Regions from separate parts of the Homo sapiens genome. Here region 1 is linked to region 2. Evidence: promoter capture Hi-C in 16 types of primary human blood cells and fetal thymus (Javierre and others, 2016). All regions are on one chromosome and are shown on one strand. Each heading gives the region's core, a stretch centred on a gene start or on the middle of the fragment in contact. The rest is flanking DNA. Distances are from core to core; before and after follow the strand shown. Region 1 overlaps RUVBL1 (RuvB like AAA ATPase 1). Region 2 holds the start of DNAJB8 (DnaJ heat shock protein family (Hsp40) member B8).

Evidence for each region. The method cuts DNA at HindIII sites, captures the fragments that hold promoters and counts their contacts. A CHiCAGO score of 5 or more calls a contact.
Region 1: a contact is called between a fragment that was not itself captured here and the fragment with the promoter of DNAJB8 in region 2, in 3 of 17 cell types (erythroblasts, non-activated CD4 T cells and megakaryocytes). The highest score is 6.1, in erythroblasts.

What each region holds. Positions count from the first base shown.
Region 1 is chr3:128,096,705-128,102,771 of GRCh38, reverse strand. RUVBL1 (RuvB like AAA ATPase 1) reads left to right here. Exons shown (of 11, transcript NM_003707.3): 5 at 1,124-1,213; 6 at 2,028-2,177; 7 at 3,827-3,890; 8 at 5,274-5,472. Among named protein-coding and RNA genes, the nearest start is that of RUVBL1-AS1, 24 kb to the right of the region's middle. RefSeq lists an enhancer at 2,041-2,560. The HindIII fragment of the contact is 3,585 bases long and covers 1-3,513 here.
Region 2 is chr3:128,462,358-128,468,505 of GRCh38, reverse strand. DNAJB8 (DnaJ heat shock protein family (Hsp40) member B8) reads left to right here and starts at 1,616. Exons shown (of 3, transcript NM_153330.6): 1 at 1,616-1,892; 2 at 3,070-3,230; 3 at 4,396-6,069. The coding sequence starts at 5,261. The coding sequence ends at 5,959. It overlaps DNAJB8-AS1 (DNAJB8 antisense RNA 1), which reads right to left and starts at 4,912. Exons shown (of 3, transcript NR_037890.1): 1 at 4,779-4,912; 2 at 4,393-4,606. The HindIII fragment of the contact is 7,883 bases long and covers 1-2,361 here.

The DNA of each region.
Region 1 (6,067 bases), core at 472-2,971, 370 kb after region 2:
ACAGTTGTACAATCACCACAATCTTAATTTCAGAACATTTTCATCGCCCCAAAAAGAATCCTCCTACTCATTTACAGTCATTCCCCATTCCAACTATAGCCCTCGGCAACTACTAATCTACTTTCGGTTGCCTTCTTTTGGACATTTCATATAAATGGAACATACAGTGTATGTCTTTTTTTGTATCTGGCTTCTTTCACCAAGTCCTGGGTTTTCACTTTTTAATTTTGTTTGGGCAAAGCCCAAGTTTTTTTTCCACCATAGCTACATTGTATAACATAGATCTCCATGAAGACCTCGAGAAACTTGTGTTTAACTATAGAATCCTTACAAAGGCAGCTGTCCTAGAATATTAATCACTGAGGGTCACCAGAATCTGGAGAAAAGCAACAGTTCCGCAAATCTGCTTATTTCCTTTCCTGGAGATATAAGCAGGCAGACCCAAGGGCACAAACACTGGGATGTGAGTCAAAAGGCTTGGGAAAGATTCTCATTTATGTTTTTCTTTGAATTACTGTATACATCTGTGATTGCACCTGGGTGCTGTTGTATAGATGAGGAAACTTAGAACTGAGAACCTTATCCAAAATCAAAGGCCCTGCAAGATGCCAGCTTTGAGATTGGTAAGCAGGTGCTGGCAGGTACTTCAGTTGTGGAAAGTTCCACCCCACCTGAGGTGAGGCAAATGAAGGAGTGAAGTAGGGATGATGATTTCAAGAGGGGTGATAGGGCCTGTGGTCCTGTGGACAGTGGGGGCTGGGCCCACCCGTCTCACGGCAGCCAGGACCATCCTTATAAAAGCGCTGCTGCCAGTTTACAGCCTTTGGAATCAAGGGAAAGAGGAGAGTACGTGTCCCCTGTGTCCCTCTCATGCTCGTTACATAGGGATGCAGGTATGCTGGCCCCCCTATTTTCTCCCTGGTGTGCTTAGTCCCCCAGCCAGTCTGTTGTGTGGTACTTATGCATTCACACTCCTGCAGGTCCCAGTATTCATGCAAACGCAAAACAGGCTTTCTCCATGCACCTGCTAGCTACCTCAGATCCCTTACGGAAAGGTACCTTACATGGTGTCAGAAGGAAATGGAATATGTATTACACTTCTGATTTACATTTTTTTTTTTAGCTGGACCCCAGCATTTTTGAAAGTTTGCAGAAAGAGCGAGTAGAAGCTGGAGATGTGATTTACATTGAAGCCAACAGTGGGGCCGTGAAGGTAATGCCTTCCTTGGGACACAGCATTGTCCCTGATTTGTTTGCCATGAGAAGACCTAAGTGACAAGGGAGTTGCTTTCTTCAGAGGGTGTGGGGTGTGTGGGGAGGGGCTGGTGTCTGTTATGAGGCTGATGGAAGGTCAACTAGTGGCCCTTTATGTATAATAAAGTTTGCCTTCCCTTTATCTTCATTCTTTAACCTTCTCGCGATTAAAACAGATAGTCTGTTAGAAAAAATACTAAAACCTGTTCAGAGGGGGAGGACAGGGTGAGAAACCAAAACAACTTTAGTCACTTTCAAATTGAAATGTGCAGTGTATTTAATCTTCCTTTTATCTCTTTGGTATTTTCTTCCCAAGATATATGCATGTGGGAAGGAACGCTGCATTCGTTGGCATTCTTTTCTATCTGATTTTCAGGGTCCTGTACAGTGTTCCTCACTGTTTAATGGATGGGCATAATACTTCATATCATACAATAAATCATCCACCTACAAAAGAGTCTGAGCAGCTCCTCTGCCTCCAGTTAATCTACTGGATTTGGCCTTTATCAGGAATTGCATACAGTTAAAAGAAAGAAGGGAAAAAGGATTTTGGGAGAAAGTATCAGGTGTTTTTCAACCCAGTTTTTGGAGCCCAGCGATGAGCAGATAGCTCCCTTCTCTTGGCAGCAGGGGAGTGGGGCATATTTGGAGTTTGTCAAGTAGGCTGTCAGGCCTGCAGTGGGAACTGAGACCTTTATCTCACTTAGCCCTGTGCCATTTGGGGACTTGGCAGTGAAAACTTACCAGGCACTCATGTTTCTCTCTTTTTGCAGAGGCAGGGCAGGTGTGATACCTATGCCACAGAATTCGACCTTGAAGCTGAAGAGTATGTCCCCTTGCCAAAAGGGGATGTGCACAAAAAGAAAGAAATCATCCAAGATGTGACCTTGCATGACTTGGATGTGGCTAATGCGCGGCCCCAGGTACTGCCTCGATGCCTGGGTGATCTGGCACATTAGCCCTTTTGTATGTGTGTGGAGATCTGGGAATGAATTGTCAGAGTCTTGCTGCCTTTCTTGAGGTAGACGGTCCTTTTCTATCTGTAATGTTCAGCAATTAACATCGACATGAGCTACGAGGGACTCCTTTGTTCCCATTCAAATGCTCTAGTCACAGATGATTTCATGTGTATTGTTTCTTATCCCAGCCAAGCCTCTGGCCCTGAGCTAGCCAGCTTCCTCCATGGCTTCACTCCAGCAGTGGGCTCACACCTGGGATTTTCTGGGTGTTAATGGCAGGAGGGCAGGAGTGTTCTATGAGCCCTTTACAGGATTTCAGAAAGCCTAACAAAGCTCTTTCTTTCCCCCTGCTTAGCAAAAGCCACAGTGTTTTAGCTTTGAGCTGGTACTGTTGTCTGCTTCTCATACAGATGGATACTTATGCCTTGGCTAGTAAAGTGCAGGAAAGGATGTTATCACTATATGACATTTCTAGGAAATAGTGAATAGTCACTATTAGGGAATAGTTTGTTTTCTGACTTGAAATTTGATCCGTGGGTGTTTTGTTCCTTGGAGCTTTGGTCAAGAGATTACTGAAGACTCATCTTGGACCAACAGGTCCCCTTGGTTGGTGAAATGGCCATCCCCAAACTGACCTCCTGGGAGCCCTTGACCTGAGAAGAGTGCTGGGCTGGGAGTCAGAAGTCAGGAACTGTGTTGCTCCATCACTGACCAGCTTGGTTAATTTGTCACTTTGGGTCTCTGGGTTTTCTGTGGTTTGGGGTTCGGTTTTGAGTTCCCTCCTACTTGGCAAGGCAGTTTTGAGGACCAGACAGGAAACATTTGCTGCCTTTAGCTATTCAGCATTTAGTGAGCCCTTCTGTGTCTCAGGGCCTGGTAACCAACAGGTGATCACTAAATGCTGAATAAATGACCAAACACCAGCCTCTTCCTCTTGCTGACTGCACTGTTAGGAGCCCGCAGGAGGATGCAGGTGAGTGGTGAACCTGTTATGGAGTCAGCCATGATCAGCTCCAAGTTAAGTAAGGACTAGGCTGATGCAAGCCTGTGGTCAAATCTAGTGAGAGGAGGCACAGCAATATAATCATGGTATATTTATACTTGCTCTTTATACTTACTCTTATAGTCCATGTGTCCCCAAAGGCACAGGAACATTTGGAGGAAGTCCTGAGTCCGGTTAGGGTCAGATGCGCCCTAGAGGGCATTTGACGTGAACTTTAATGACTGGGAACTTCTAGGAAGGAGAATGGCATTCCTGGCAGATGGAATAGACTCAAAAGCATTGAGTCATAAAAAAGCTTGGGGGTGTCCAGGGCAGGGCTGGTAGTCTTGTGTGGCTAATCAAGGAACAAGGGGTTGGAAAAAGATAGGGCTGGAAAAGGAGGCTGGGCAGGCCCCACGGAGCTTATACTTGCCATGAAAGGATTTTGTTTGATTCTTACAGGTTAGGGGAACCTCTAAAAATTCCTCTGTGTTTAGAAGCTCCTCAGGCTTTGAGGAGGGGTCTCCATACCTCAGGATCCCATGTTGAGTTGATGAGTGGGATGCAGGGGGATGAGGCTTCTGTAGTCACCTTAGAAAGCAGCACTGACTCTAAGTCTTCTCTTATGCAGGGGGGACAAGATATCCTGTCCATGATGGGCCAGCTAATGAAGCCAAAGAAGACAGAAATCACAGGTAGGAGAACCAGTGTGCCCTGTGAGCAAGGGGCAGGGCGGAGGGCCCCACATTCTGAGATGCTCTTGCGGCTCTGTGAGCACAGTCGCCCTGAGGAAATGCCTCAGAACAGTTCTTTCTTCCTCATAGCTTAGAGCTTGACTCTAGCCTAAGTTTCTGGCGGCATTTAGGCAGCCATATAGCACACTGTGTGCTATCTGCCCCACTGCAGTCACAGTTTCTGGCCCCTATGAGGCCCCAGAAATAGGGATTTGTGTCGCCCAGCTCTGCTGGAGCACAGGCTCTGGAGCCTTGGGGCTGTCAGCCCCCTCCCTAGTAGAGCACAGGGCAGCTCCACAGACCAGCTCCACATACTGCCCTGCCCAGTTTGTGGGCACTTCCCAGAGCTCCACAGGGGACACTGCTGCTGCTCCCCTGTGAACCTTTATTTAACCTGCTGCTCTTCCCAGCTTTCCTGTTGCTGTTTTTTTTCTAATTCCACCTACAGTTTCGTCACCTTAAGATGTTAGTTAAACATTAAAGCAAATATTGTCTTTAAAGTTTAAGCCAGGGCAGCAATCTGAGACCTTTCTGTTCGAGTTGTCAGAAGCAGTTTCTTTCTTTTCACACGGTTTTCGGTGTGCATCCTCTTTGGACAATCCCCGCCTCTTGCCTTTGGTGGAAGACGCTGCCTCAGATCTTCCAGTTTTCTATTTGTGAGCTGCTCCCTCCTGATGATAACACAGGAGCTGGTTTGGAAAATGAGCACTGAGACCTTAGCTGGGTTATGTAACTTTTGAGAGACTCATCCCTCTAGGAGCTCTGAGATTGGGCCTTTCTTCAGAGCCTTTCATTCCTCAAAGGTTTCTGCTCAGGATTCTAAAAGCACCCACTTCCTTAGTCCAGGCACTTGATTGAAAGTTAATTAACCTAAGCATTGTTGTATGGGACCAAAAGAAAGGGTCATTTACTGAGTATAGAACAGGTAAATTTGCATGTGAAAACTCATTTCACCCAGGGCTCCCAAACTCCAATGTCTCCCAGATCAGACAGAGCTAGATTGGGTATGTGGGAAGTGATAAGGCATGGTAGGGAGTGTGACAGCAGTGAGCGTGTGCTGTGAAGGGATTCCCATGCAGAACACCTGTGCAACCTTTTTACATTTAACCAAACTCATCTTTTGGGGGAGGCTGCCAATTTTGTGACCTTTTAGGTGTGATTATCACTGTGTTCAGATGACGACACTGAAACCTGGAGTGGGGACACACCCTGTCTGGGATCACATAGCTAGTAGGAAAACTAGGCTCCTAGCATGGGTTTGGATTGAATTCAGGTGGAGGAGAAAAGGCGATAGTCTCCCCCAGCCCTGTGCTGACCTTGCCTGCCCATCCTTGCATCTCCTAGACAAACTTCGAGGGGAGATTAATAAGGTGGTGAACAAGTACATCGACCAGGGCATTGCTGAGCTGGTCCCGGGTGTGCTGTTTGTTGATGAGGTCCACATGCTGGACATTGAGTGCTTCACCTACCTGCACCGCGCCCTGGAGTCTTCTATCGCTCCCATCGTCATCTTTGCATCCAACCGAGGCAACTGTGTCATCAGGTAGGATGGCTGCCTGCCAGCCACAAGGCTTTTTTAACTTCCATCTGGGCTCATTTGTTCCTCAGGATCTCTCCAAACCCCATGAGGTGGGACAGGGATGAGGGGAGGTCATGTTGTTTTTGAGGGAAAATGTGCCAAGTGGCTTGCCTCTGGCCTCATTTCCCTAGTCACCAAAGGCAGCAGCTGTCCTGTCACTCATGAGGAGGGTCTCCCACGTGATCTTTTGGGTGTGATACTACAATTTGGTCGTTCAATTGGAGTGTACAAAGGTGAGATCAGACAGGGCTAGCCTTTGATGACATTATACACATGAACGTCTTCAGTCTTCATCTGCGCTCTGAGAGGTAGGCATTATTGGCGTCATTTTTCAAATAAGGAAACTGGAATCATAACTTGTCCCTCATCGTAAAGACAGGATAAGAACCCAGCTCCTTCTGATAACAAAACCAGCATTTTCTTTCTTTTTTTTTTTGGGGACAGAGTCTCACTGTGTCGCCCAGGCTGGAGTGCAGTGGCGCGATCTCGGCTCACTGCAAGCTCCACCTCCCGGGTTCACACCATTCTCCTGCCTCAGCCTCCCGAGTAGCTGGGACTA
Region 2 (6,148 bases), core at 367-2,866:
TCGGGGGTGATTAGAATCCTTTTAAAAAGCCACTCCATTAATTACAGAGACAGAGAGGGGCCTCTGGCTGCTCCGAATACCAATTGGCTGCTTAATCGGCTCCATCAGCTCGCCCGGGGGAGACCTTCCTGGTACTGCTGTGTGACCTTCGGTGTGCCCTGCCCTCTCTGGGCCTCGCTTGGTCGCTGAAGGTCCTTCTCTCCCTGGCCATGGCTCGGGGTTGGCTTTAGGGTGGGCCTGAGATGAGGGACATGGGACATCTGAGGCCAGGAAGCCTAGGCTGGCTCCCCAGAGAGGGCAAATCCCCAAAAGCACCCACTGGTGAATGAGGACAGAGAGGCTTGAAGAGGGGAGGTGGCCTGACAGAATTGACGGTGGAGCGTGTGGGGCCTAAGTGTGCGCTCATGCCTGTGTGTCCCTGTCCCTCCAGCAGGCCCTATGGAGGCCTCAGAGCCCCTGATGCTCCCCACTGGCTCCCCAAAAACTGGCGTGGAAGGAGACTAGCCTGAACCCTTTGCAGAAGGGAAACTCCTCTGCACACTGCCCGGCTCCACGGTCCACAGCTCCCTTCATGGGGAGCTCCCCACAGGGGCCTCCATCTCAGGATGCCCTTGATGGTGAGGTGTGGGACCTGCTCCCAGGTGACACACCTGTTCCCGTAAGTCCTACCGAGTGGTCTGTTCTGTGTGCCCTAAGACAGCCCTGAATGGGCGGCAGTGAGGGGGTCTCCAGCCCTGTCTCCATCCTGGCTGACTCCCACAGACCCATCCCAGGAACAAGGGTTGGAGCAGGGCAGTGGCTGGAAGAAATTTCCCCTGGGAGTACAACGCAGACCAGAGCCAGGGTCTCCAACAAGGCAGGGAGGGCCAGGACGGGGAGGCGGCCACAGGATTCTTGGATGCCTCATCATACTAGGTCCTTTGTCTCTTAACATTGTTTTCACCACCCCTCCTCCACTGTCCTGATTCCATCGTCATGGAAACTTCAGGCTTCACCTTTACAATGTCAGGCCACCAACACCCTCAGCAGTGTCACCATCACCATCAACACCCCAGCGTCCCATCCCCATCTCCTCTACCACTGCCACCAGCCCCACTATCACTATCATCTCTGTCACCGTCACCACGGTGCTCTCCACCCGTGTCAGCATTGTGTCACCACCACATCACTGTCACCACACTTCCTCCACCTCCATCTCCACCCACCATCCCATCTGTGACATCACCTTATCAGCTCTGCCACCAGTATCAACCACTCACACCGCCTTTGCCATCACCACCGTCATTGCCCCCTCTACTACCACCACCATCACCACCACCGGGTCTGCCTCAGCCAGACCCACCACTGCCTCTAATTAGACTGCCACCATCATCACTGCCACCACCACTGCCCCTCCAATGCCTTCCTGATGTCACCATCTGCTTTCTCTCTGCTATCCTCACACCCAACTCCATCACAACCACCACCTTCATCTGAGCCGCCATCACCCTCACAGTACACAGCCCTCAAATGTGTACCAAGGAGGAGGACATTTACTACACGCTGCACCCTGAACAGTCTGGGACCAGCGGTCAGGGAACAAGGAATCGAGATGCTCACCTGCAGCTCCCAGGTGAGCGGCTCTCTAGAGCTTGCCTGGGAGCTGCTGAGGAGCTCACGGTATTCCAGGAAGCTCCCCATCCATGCCTCAGCCTGTGGCTCAGAAGCAGGGTCTTCGCAGAAGATTGCCCCGAGCTGTTGCAAAGCTCACCATTGTCACCTGCCTGCAACGGCCTCTCTTTTCCACTCTCCAAATCCCTTGTATTGGCAGGCTCTAGTCTGGAATTATACCGGTGATGGGATTCTGGAAAATCCCTCAGATTTCTCCAGGATGCAAGGAGACCATGGAAGAGGTTGGTGTAATGCCAAGTTAGCAACAGAAAATACAGAGCCCCACACCTCAGTGCCATCACCATCGCCATCGGCACTCACACCAGCATGTCCACCACTGTGTCCTTCTCACCCCTCGGCACCCCCCTCTACCATTGCCTCTTCCACAACCACCCTCACCACCATCCTCCATTAATAGCACAATTCCTGCCTCCTATCCCATCACCACCACGGGTGTCCCCGGCACCAGCAGCACCAACACTGCTCCCAGCAGAGCCATCGTTACCAGCCCCGCTGTCAGTCCCATCTTGAGCATCTGGCATATGTTGGAGAACTGCTCACTCCCTCTTCCCCATGGGAATCTCAGGCCTCTCTTCCTATTGCCCTGAGATTTGCAGAACCTTCCTGAAGGAAACATTCTTTGCCCCATGGATACTGGCCTTGACCATGGGATGCAGCAAGACTGCCACACATCATGGCCCAACAGAAGCTTTCAGAGGCAGCCCAAGTTCCTGCTGTCTCTGAGTGGCACTGTCATGAGAGAGGGGTGTGCAGGTCAGAGCTGATTCTCCAGCCTGGGACCCACAGTGAGAAGCTATGGGAGGTGGGGCCCTGGCAGCTGCCTGTAGGCACCAGTGAGTGAAGTGGGGGGAACTAGATGTTTGTCGTGAGCCACTGAGAGGTGGAAGCTGTCACTGTGGTATAGCCGAACAAGATACAACCTCTGCTACCTCCACCACCTTCACCTTCATCATCACCATTACTGTCACCACTGCCAACCACACCAATGGCTCACTAGGAGCCATTCCCATCACCTCCTCATCATACCTGCACCATCACTGCCAACCACAACAAAGGCTCGCTGTTACCATCTCCTCTGGCATGACCATCACCACCACCACTACCATCATCAATTACTCTCAAGCACAAGCCTTGCTGCTGTCACCACCAGCATCACCATCATCATGATCAACTCCACCATCACCCATAATTACTCTCCCCCTCACACCCACCATGACCATTACCTCCACATCAACACTGCTCCCATGGTCACCTCTACTATATAATGACACCTTATCCATCTCCATGGACACCCACCGTGCCTCTCCCCACCAGCAACACAGTCAACAGCAGTGCCTCTCCCACTGCCACCGCCATCATGGAGAACTGTGCAGGGCAAGCATCTTTCTCCCGCCCCAGGAACAAGCCTGCAAGGGACAGCAGGTGCTAACTGCTAACCGAGACATAGTGACAAAAATCCAGCCACAGAGATAAAGAATCAGGTTCATCTGTAGCTACATCCAGTGGAGAAGTTCTGCTCTTCAACTCCTCTGCTAAGCCACATGTGTCAGCAGGTGTAGGTGGGTGGATGCCCAGCATGGGGGTGCGAGTCGTGCTTTTGATAAGCTGCATGGAGGGACAGCGATGGTCACTGGAGGCTGGGTTTACAAAGTGTCTCTACAGTCTGTCTCCATTCCTCCTGGCATTTGGGATTGGTTAGAACACACACTGTCCCCTGCTAGGAGCCTGAAACCTAGCACCCATGAGCACTGAAAGAAAAGAGAGAGAGGGAGGATAATAGAAAGGGATGAAGACTAGAAAAAGGAAGAGGAGGAAGAAGGGAGGAATGAAGGAAGGAAGGAGGAAGGAAAGAAGCCAGGAGTGAAGAAGGGAGGGAAGGGAGAAGGGGGAAGGGGAGGGAGGAAGGAAAGAAAGAAGGAAGGAAGGAGAAAGGGAGGAAGGAAGGAAGGAAGGAAGGAGGAAATGAAGGAAGGAGGGGGAAGGGAGGGAGGGAGGAGGGAAGGAAGGCAGGGAACGGAAGGGAAGGGAAGGGAAAGAAGGAGGGAAGGAGGGAGGGAGGAAGGGAGGAAGGAAAGAAGGCAGGCAGGAAGGCTATCTTTAGTTAAGACTTGGTGACCCAAACATCTAGGCTCTTTATTGGTGTGGTTAGTAGGTGGTTTAGCATGGTTTTGATCTTAATTGGAGTGGGGTGAGGTGAAGGTAGGAACAGATATTAATCAGTATTGTGAATTGCTGTTTCTATATATGATCCAACACCAGAACAAGAATTAAAGGAATATAAATGCCTAAGAATATTTGGTTACCTCACTCACCTGATTCGTTTTCTAGGGCTGTTACAAATTATTACAAACTGGGTAGCTCAATACAAAAGAAATCTCTTCCCCCAGTTCTGGAGGCCAGAGGTCTGAAATCGAGGTGTTAGTGGGGCCGCACTCCCTCTGGAGGCTGCAGGGAGAACCCTCCTGGCCCCCAGCTTCCAGCTGCGTCAGTGTCCATCTCCTATACGGACATGTGTCACTGGATTTAGGGCCCACTCAGATAATCCAGGATGATCTCATCTCGACATCCTTAATTTAATTACATCCGAAAAGATCCTTTTTCCAAATAAGCTCACATTCAGAGGTTCCAAGGATTAGGATAGGAACATATCTTTTTGGGGGCCACCATTCAACCCACTACAGTCAGTAATCAATATTTATCATCAATTCCTATTTTTCTTACCAGAATTGAGTGGAACACTTCTTTGGATTTGCTGTCCGCTGCAGCCTTGGCCCTGGTTTCACATCCCCTCCCTCACTGACTCGCTGTGTGACCTTGAGCACTGTGTGTCTCTGAGCCTGGTTCATCCAAGAGTTTACCGACGGCCCTCGTGTGCCAGCCACTGTCCTAGACAGGGACAGACTTTCCCGCCTTTGTGGAGCTTACCCCGGAAGACCTGGCCAGATAATGGGCACAAAAAAAGCAGGCTCTTGTCCCCACCCCAGCCTGCCTGAACCCCACCTTGGCCTCCTCTTGCCTCAGCTGCTGCCCAGCCATCGGCCGAGTGGACATACCCAGGACGCCCTTGCCCGCCTCCCCCACCACGGCCACAGACCTTTGTCACTCACCAAGGCTGGAATCCCGTGGCTGATCCTGCCTCTGCCCTTTGGCTCCCGGGACTCAGCCCACACCACCTGGGTCACAGAGCATCCCATTCCCACACACCGTTGTGGCCACCTCACCAGCAGGGGCAGGCCCATATGCCCAGGTTTGCCTGGTGAGGAGCTGGGGGCGGGGGTATGCCCCGCCCCGGGAGCTGACGTCATAAAAGGAGCTCTGGAGGGCAGCCCACTCTGGCCTGGCCCCACAGCGGCAGTGTCCCTCCCCTCCCCCCACTCCTCTCAGTGGGGGCCCCTCCAGTCCCTGAGAATTGGTACTACGAAAAGGTGAACTCCTGGGCAGAATCTTGCCTAGAGCTTGCGGAGTCCAGCCAGGCCCCTGCTGAAGGGCCCCAGACCACCGGCCACTTCTCCCCCGTCCATCTGACCAGCTGGGCCCCTGCGCCCACCTGGCCTCCACGTTCCCTCTCCTCTCACCCACACCCCTGGCCATGGCTAACTACTACGAAGTGCTGGGCGTGCAGGCCAGCGCTTCCCCGGAGGACATCAAGAAAGCCTACCGCAAGCTGGCCCTTCGTTGGCACCCCGACAAGAACCCTGACAATAAGGAGGAGGCGGAGAAGAAGTTCAAGCTGGTGTCTGAGGCCTATGAGGTTCTGTCTGACTCCAAGAAACGCTCCCTGTATGACCGTGCTGGCTGTGACAGCTGGCGGGCTGGTGGCGGGGCCAGCACGCCCTACCACAGCCCCTTCGACACCGGCTACACCTTCCGTAACCCTGAGGACATCTTCCGGGAGTTTTTTGGTGGCCTGGACCCTTTCTCCTTTGAGTTCTGGGACAGCCCATTCAATAGTGACCGTGGTGGCCGGGGCCATGGCCTGAGGGGGGCCTTCTCGGCAGGCTTTGGAGAATTTCCGGCCTTCATGGAGGCCTTCTCATCCTTCAACATGCTGGGCTGCAGCGGGGGCAGCCACACCACCTTCTCATCCACCTCCTTCGGGGGCTCCAGTTCTGGCAGCTCGGGGTTCAAGTCGGTGATGTCGTCCACCGAGATGATCAATGGCCACAAGGTCACCACCAAGCGCATCGTGGAGAACGGGCAGGAGCGCGTGGAGGTGGAGGAAGACGGGCAGCTCAAGTCGGTGACTGTGAACGGCAAGGAGCAGCTCAAATGGATGGACAGCAAGTAGGCGCTGGCCACCCGGCCCTGCCTTCCCACCACCACCACCGTGCATGGGGCAGCAAACACGTGGGGCCGCAGACATAGCCTGATGGTTAATAAATGTGCCAAGTGAGTTCATGGCATAGCTTTCTCAGCTTTGTGGGGACATGGGGCCAGCTCCAGCCTAGTGAACATGAAGGAGGGAGTGGGTGCTGCC